Linked DNA regions of Homo sapiens: region 1 is linked to region 2. Evidence: promoter capture Hi-C in human tissues and cell types (Jung and others, 2019). All regions are on one chromosome and are shown on one strand. The core of a region is centred on a gene start or on the middle of the fragment in contact, and the rest is flanking DNA. Distances in the headings are between cores, read along the strand shown. Region 1 overlaps ZMYM1 (zinc finger MYM-type containing 1). Region 2 holds the start of CLSPN (claspin).

Region 1 (3,645 bases), core at 710-3,209, 670 kb before region 2:
AAATGCACTTTCTCAGGCTGGGAGCAGTGGCTCACGCCTGTTATCCTAGCACTTAGGGAGGCCGAGGTGGGCAGAATGCCTGAGCTCAGGAGTTTGAGACCAGCCTGGCAACACAGTGAAACCCTGTCTCTACTAAAATACAAAAAAATTAGCTGAGCACTGTGGCATGCACCTGTAATCCCAGCTACTTGGGAGGCTGAAGCAGGACAATTGCTTGAACCCGGGAGGCTAAAGTTGCAGTAAGCTGAGATCAGGCCACTGCACTGACTGTCTCAAAAAGAAAAAAAAAGAAATGCACTTTCTCAGGTCTTACCCAGACCTGCTGATTCAGAACTGCATTTATCGCCATGTGATTCCTATACATGCTAAAGTTGGAGCAGTATTGAGAACTTCTTTGTTACTTAGTATTCGTATCTGTTTTTGATAAATGTACAAAAGAATTATGAGCATTAAATAGTATATTTAAGTGGTCAGAACAATACCAGCATGTAGTAAGAACTCAATAAATGTTAACTATTATTATTCTCTTAACAAACTCACAAACCCTTTTGATGGGTTTGCTTCAGCTCCTCTGGCTGCTGCTTCAGTTATTATCTGTTGCTTCAGGTCTTATTCCATGGCACGTTACTTACCATTCTCTTTTGCTTTTCAACCCTTCAATACTATACTAGTCTTTTGTCTTTTTACTTTTTTGCTATGGGCCATATAGTACTCTCTTCAGCCTGCTTTCTCTCCCTGCAGAGTCATAAAACTGGAAGGGACCTTAGAGACTCACTACACATCTTCAGCAGATGTCCCAGACAGATTGAAAAAGGCTGAAGCAGGAAAGATTTAGTGTGTAAGTTCTCCTAGGCATGGAAATCCAATATGAGTAAAAATCTGAGATAAGTTTTACTTCCTCTAGAATAAAATTTTTTTATAAAAAATATTATATTGTAGTGGGTAGAAAGATGGTAGTAAATTTTAGGCTGGAAAAGGCCATCCATGATTCAGAGTAGGCTGCTTTTTTCAAAACTTAAAAATTCCACATTAATTAGCCTTTTACATAAATTTTAGCTATTCTTCTGGGGTTTTTTTATCTTCCAGTGAAACTATCCTGAACTGAAAATAATTTTCAGTTACTTATTTATTTATTTTTGCAGAGACAGAGTCACTATGTTTCCCAGGCTGATCTTAAACTCCTGAGTTCAAGTGATCCTCCTGCCTTGGTCTCCCAAAGTGCCGGGATTACAGGTGTGAGCCACCGTGCTGATTTTCAGTTTTGTTTGTTTGTTTGTTTTGTTTTGTTTTGTCTGAGACGGAGTCTCGTCTCAATCTGTCACCCAGGCCAGAGTGCAATGGTGCAATCTTGGCTTACTGCAACCTCCACCTCCTGGGTTCAAGCAATTCTCCTGCCTCAGCCTCCCAAGTAGCTGGGATTACAGGCGTGTGCCACTGTGCCCAGCTAGTTTTTTTATTTTCAGTAGAGATGCAGTTTCGCCATGTTGGCCAGGCTGGTCTCGAACTCCGGACCTCAGGTGATCTGCTTTCCTCGGCCTCCCAAAGTGCTGGGATTATAGGTATGAGCCACCACGCCCTGCCTGATTTTTAGTTACTTTTTAAGATTTCTTTTATAGGAATGATTTAATATCTGTTTTGAGTCAATGCACTTTTTATTCTATTTCATGGACCAAATGGAAGATCCCTTTGAAGATGACATTTTAAATCTTATTAGAAAGATGCGATTTGTGGGCCAAGCGAGGTGGTTCACACCTGTAATCCCAGCACTTTGGGAGGCCAAGGCAGGAGAATCACTGGAGGTCAGGAGTTCGAGACCAGTCTAGCCAACACCACAAATCCCTGTCTCTACTAAAAATATAAAAATTAGCCAGGCGTGGTGGTGTGTGCCTGTAAACCCAGCTACACCAGTGACTGAGGCAGGAGAATTGCTTGAACCCAGGAGACGGAGGTTGCAGTGAGCTGAGATTGTACGACTGCACTCCAGCCTGGGCAACGGAGTGAGACCCTGTCTCAAAAAAAAAAAAAAAGATGTGACTTGTTCTTGGGAACTTTGTATTTAAGAAGTGTCATTTCTTCACTTTAGTATCTCAGTTGGAACCAACCGCAAATCCTGAATGCAATCAATAAAGTCCAAAATAGGCCCCTGCACTAAGGTTTGATTTATTTATCGGAAAGTTGTTCCTAATTTGTTGGCGTTTCTTTTTTTTTTTTGAGACAAGGTCCCTGTCTGTCACCCAGGTTGGAGTGCAGTGGCACCATCTTGGCTCACTGCAGCCTCGACCACCTGGGCTTAAGCAATACTCCCACCTTTACCCTCCCAAGTAGCTGGGATTGCAGGCACATGCCACCCTGCCTGTCCAGTTTTTGTATTTTTTTGTAGAGATGATTTCACCATGTTGTCCAGACTGGTCTTGAACTCCTGGGCTCAAGTGATCCTCCTGGCTTGCCCTCCCAAAGTGCTGGCATTATGGGCGTGAGCCACCGTACCCAGCCAACATTCTTTTTTTTTTTTTTTTTGAGGCGGAGTCTCACCGTTTTGCCCAGGCTGGAGTTCAATAGCGGGATCTCAGCTCACTGCAACCTCCGCCTCCCAGGTTCAAGCGATTCTTCTGCCTCAGCCTCCCTAGTAACTGGGATTACAGGTGCCTATCACCATGCCCCGTTAATTTTTGTATTTTTAGTAGAGATGGGGTTTCACCGTGTTGGCCAGGCTGGTCTCCCAACTCCTGACCTCAGGTATCTGCCTGCCCCAGCCTCCCAGGATTACACATGTGAGCCACCGTGCCTGGCCAACATTCATTTTTCAATTTTTTATAAAGCTTTAGTAGATTCTTAGAAGCCAGCAATCTAGTATGCTGATAGCAATAAAAACTAAGAAGCATTTTCAGACTTCCATGCGTCGCTGATGTAGTTTCTTCTTCCTCCCTTCCCATCTGGCTGGTATCTTTATTCTGTCTGAAAGGTATGCCTCAAATATCTTTACCTTTTGTCTATTCCCACACCATTCCTCACTCTCCTCTTACAACCGCCCACCCCCCAAATTAATTCTTCTGTGGTCTGTGATTTTACAGTGTCGTGTTCATAACTCCCAAAACATTGATCACAAAATACTAATGTTTTTAAATATTTTTAGTAGAGACGGGGTTGGCCAGGCTAGTCTCGAACTCCTGACCTCAAGTGATCTGCCCACCTTGGCCTCCCAAGATTAAAGGTGTGAGCCACCGCGCCTGCTATTAGGTGTATTGATATTTTCTATAGTGGCTGTTCTCAAACTTTCTGGTCTCAGGACTTCTTGTACCCTTAAAAATTATTGAACACCCAAAGAGCTTTAGTTATGTAGATTATGAATATTAACTGTATCAAAAATTAAATGACATTTTAAATGAAAAATACCCATATTTTTAAAAATTGATAAGTATTGTTTTATCAGTTTTGCAAATCACTTTACATCTAGCTGGATTTTTGTATCTGTTTCTGCCTTCACTTTATTGCAAAGTGTTGTTTTGGTTGAAGTCTGAAGAAAACCTGGCCTCATAAATAGGTGATTGGAAAAGGGGGGAGTGTTTTAGTAGCCTTTTAGATCGTTGTGGGTGTTCTTTGATACTACAACCAAAAATCAAGTGGTAGTTTCTTAAAGGCTAGTTG
Region 2 (3,919 bases), core at 661-3,160:
TCTCAAAAAATTATTAAATTGGTCAGGCATGGTGGCTCACGCCTGTAATCCCAGCACTTTGGGAGGCCGAGGTGGGTGGATCACAAGGTCAGGAGTTCGAGACTAGCCTGGCCAATACAGTAAAACCCCGTATCTACTAAAAATACAAAAATTAGCTGGGCGTGGTGGTGTGTGCCTGTAGTCCCAGCTGCTCAGGAGGCTGGGGCAGGAGAATCGCTTGAATCCAGGAGACAGAAGTTGCAGTGAGCCGAGATTGTGCCACTGCACTCCAGTCTGGGCAACAGAGCGAGACTCCGTCTCAAAAAAAAAAAAATTATTAAATTGATTTGAATGCAAGGTACAAATTTTTTTTTTTTTTGATACAGTGTCTCACTCTGTCACCTAGGCTGGAGTGCAGTGGCAGGATCATGGCTCACTGCAGCCTTGACCTCCCAGGCCCAAAGGATTCTCTCACCTCAGCCACCCGAGTAGCTGGGACCGAGTAGCTGGGACCACAGGCGACGCCCGGCTAATTTTTTTTTTTTTGTAGAGGCGGGGTTTTGCCATGTTTTCTATGCAGGCTGGTTTCGAACTCTTGAGCTCAAGCAATCTGCCGGCCTTAGCCTCCCGAAGTGCTGGGATTGCTGAGAATTAATATGTATGCACTGATGATCCTCTCAACAATCCAAAGCAGTAAAACTATTACTTCTGTTTGTGAGTGTGGAAACCGAATTTAGGTAACCAGACAGCTCAAGGAATAGGGCTGCTTTGAATGACGATTATCTTCTAGGCAATTTGCAGCAACGTCAAAGGGCAGGGCCAGTAACAGGGTGGGGTGAGGTCTCAAAAAATTCAGTAATCAAAATGAATAACATTAATGCAATATTTTTTAAAAAATTAAATCAATAATCTACAGCTCATGAGGTAAATAATATGCCCGCTTTTGTAAATAAAGTTTATTGGAAACAGGGATGGAATTAGGGTGAGGTGATTGAGGCAAGGTCGTGCAAATGACTGGTCGGATCTCGTCTTTGTTTAAACGTCTGATATTTTGTTCAATATCAAATCATAAAAAGTTTTTGCATTAATTTTGGTTTTTTAAAAATATTGCATTAAAATATGAGTTTGATTGAGGGTTTTGGCGCCCCTTTAAATTTTGCTCCTAAGGCGGGAGTGCCTTGCCCGAATCCGGCCCAGAAAGGACACAGCTCTGGAAACATCTGTTTTCTATGCCCAATTTCGCCAGGGAGCTGCCAGCCACCAGCCAGGAGCCCCAGCGGTGACTTCCCCACTCGGGGCCCGGTCGGAAAACGCAAAGGGCCTGCGCGCGATGACCTCCAGGGCCCCTCCCAGGCCCAGTGTGGAACTCCCTAACACCCTCGCTCGCCCTCTCTCTGCGGAGAATCCCCCCGCACCGCTGCGGCCGGGTTCGGCTAGAGCCTCCCGGCTTTCAGAGCACCCTGAGGGGAGGAGCTTCCGCGACAGGAAACGCGCCAAAGGGGAGGGCTGGCGGCAGGAACCGGCTGAAGAGGGGCTGGGCTGCCGGCAGTGCGCGCCGCAGAGACCTGGAGCTCTCCGGCCACGGAGCCCGAAGCGCGGGAAGCCCGGCGGCGGGACGGGATGCCCGGTCGGAACCCATCCCGGCCGAGTCTCGAGGCCGCGGGAGCCGGCGCGGCGAACGCCGGGAGCCGCAGTCCTCCCGCCCGGGCGCCTCGGGTCAGCGGGGTCTACCCCGGCCCCACCTAACCTCTCGGTGCCCGGCCTTCTAAGCCCCCGTGGGGGGCGTGTGCATAAACTCACCTCAGAACCCACCTCGCCTGTCATGACTTCTGCCTCCCCTGCGCTCCACTAGGGACGGAGCTGTCTCTGATTCCCTCAGCCGGAGAGCAGCGGCTCCCGCCGTCTCCAGCCCAGCAGTGCTGTTCTTGCTTTCCCGCCCAGCCAGAGTGGAGGTCCCACCCAGATGGTTTGCACCAATCCAGAGGGGGCTTTCCAGCGAGTCCCCGCCCCCTTCCGACCCACCAATCACGCAGCGCCTCTGGCCGCCCAATCTCCTATTACCCAGGCTGAGTTGGCGGGTCGCAGCTGCTGGTAGCGGAGCCTGGGGGAGCTGGAGGTGCACGGGGGCGGGGCAGTCGGTACCAGGCGAGCCGTGGTCTTTGACCTTTGACACTTGCCAAAGCATCGAGTGCGATTGGAGGGGTGAGTCTTTCGGGGGGAAGTGAGCTGGGAAACGGTTCCTGGGCACCTGGGAGTGTCCTGTACCTGAACTTTTTAGAGGAATTCCAAGGTTCCCGTGGGGATTTTCTCCACTGACTTCATTTCTGGAGCAGCTAGATCCTGTGTGCCTCTTGTACATGACACTTACCACTGAATATATATATATATATATATATATATATATATATATATATATACACACACACACACATATGTACACACATATATACATACACATATATACACATACACATGTATGTGTATACACACACACTTTTTTTTTTTTTGAGATGGAGTCTCCCTCTGTTAGCCAGGATGAAATGCAGTGGCGCGATCTCGGCTCACTGCAACCTCCGCCTCCCGGGTTCAAGCGATTCTCGTGCCTCAGCCTCCTGAGTAGCTAGGATTACAGGCACCCGCCACCAACCCCTGGCTAATTTTTGTATTTTTAGTAGAGACGGGGTTTCACCATGTTGGCCAGGCTGGTCTCGAACTCCTGATCTCAAATGATCCTCGCCTCGGCCTCCCAAAGTGCTGGGAGGCCTCATACCCCTCACAGGCGTGAGCCACTGTGCCCGGCCCACTTTTATTTTTTAAAGAGGGCCGGGCTCCATGGCTCACGCTTGTAATCTCAACGCTTTGGGAGGCCGAGGTGGGAGGATGGCTTGAGTCCAGGAGTTTGAGGTTAGAGTGAGTTATGATCGCACCACTGCACTTCAGCGTAGGCGATAGAGGGAGACCTTGTCTCTAAAGAAAAAAGTTTTGTGGGCTGCTCAGATACCAAAGAATATGGTTGGATAATCTTTATAATTCTCTGTAGAGTTAATTTGAGGATGTAGAAAGCACTCATCACTCCTAGAGGGCATTCTACCTTTAAACAAGGCTGGAAAAAGAATTGAAGCTCTGAAATCAGGTTTATCCCAGACACAGTTCTTTTTTTTTTTTTTTTTTTTTTGTTGAGACAGAGTCTCTCCCTGTCACCATGGCTGGGTGCAATGGCGTGATCTCGGCTCACTGCAACCTCCGCCTCCCGGGTTCAAGCGATTCTCCTGCCTCAGCCTCCTGAGTAGCTAGGATTATAGGCATGTGCCACCACGCTCAGATAATTTTTTGTAACTTTAGTAGAGACAAGATTTCACCATTTTGGCCAGGCTGATCTTGAACTCCTGACCTCGTGATCCGCCCGTCTCAGCCTCCCAAAGTGCTGGGATTACAGGTGTGAGTCACCGCACCTGGCCTATCCCAGACAATTCTAATCCCAGTTTTGCCACTGTGCTGGCCATTATTTTTTGCCTCTCCAGGTCAATTCTCTGTCCTTCCTTTACCCTGGTGTGTGTCAAGGCAAGGCTGACCTCTCTAGACTGTATTATCCCAGCTCCCTTGCCCTTCTGGTTGGGTCAGGCCCCTGTAAAGACACCTTATAAGGTTACTGTAAGGAGATGAGAGGCCACCAGGAAAGAAAGGTCAGAGTATTTATTGCTCACTTCACCCTCCATGGTCATATCCACTGCCAGTGTGGCCAGCTTGGCCCAGCTTGCCCAGGACTTTCCTAGTTTTAGCACTAAAAGTCCTGCATCCTGAGAACCTCCTCAGTCACAGGTATACCAAATGGTTGGTTCTTCACCCAATCCACTGGCCTCCTCTTCCAAGTTTCCACCTTTAGCTGGGTTCAGAAAAAAGCTCCCTCTCCACATCTTCATTTCTTTACTTCCCCACCATC

The links. Contacts are between HindIII fragments. The study calls those that stand out against the background at their distance.
Region 1: a fragment that was not itself captured here is called in contact with the fragment with the promoter of CLSPN in region 2 in 1 of the 25 tissues and cell types used here (liver).

Annotation. Positions count from the first base shown.
Region 1 is chr1:35,098,610-35,102,254 of GRCh38, forward strand. The region is part of intron 4 of ZMYM1 (zinc finger MYM-type containing 1); the gene reads left to right. Among named protein-coding and RNA genes, the nearest start is that of ZMYM1, 21 kb to the left of the region's middle. The HindIII fragment of the contact is 6,108 bases long and covers 1-3,645 here.
Region 2 is chr1:35,768,068-35,771,986 of GRCh38, forward strand. CLSPN (claspin) reads right to left here and starts at 1,911. Exons shown (of 25, transcript NM_022111.4): 1 at 1,780-1,911. The coding sequence starts at 1,803. It overlaps CLSPN-DT (CLSPN divergent transcript), which reads left to right and starts at 2,028. Exons shown (of 3, transcript NR_199050.1): 1 at 2,028-2,181. RefSeq lists a silencer at 1,524-1,753. The HindIII fragment of the contact is 25,943 bases long and covers 1-3,919 here.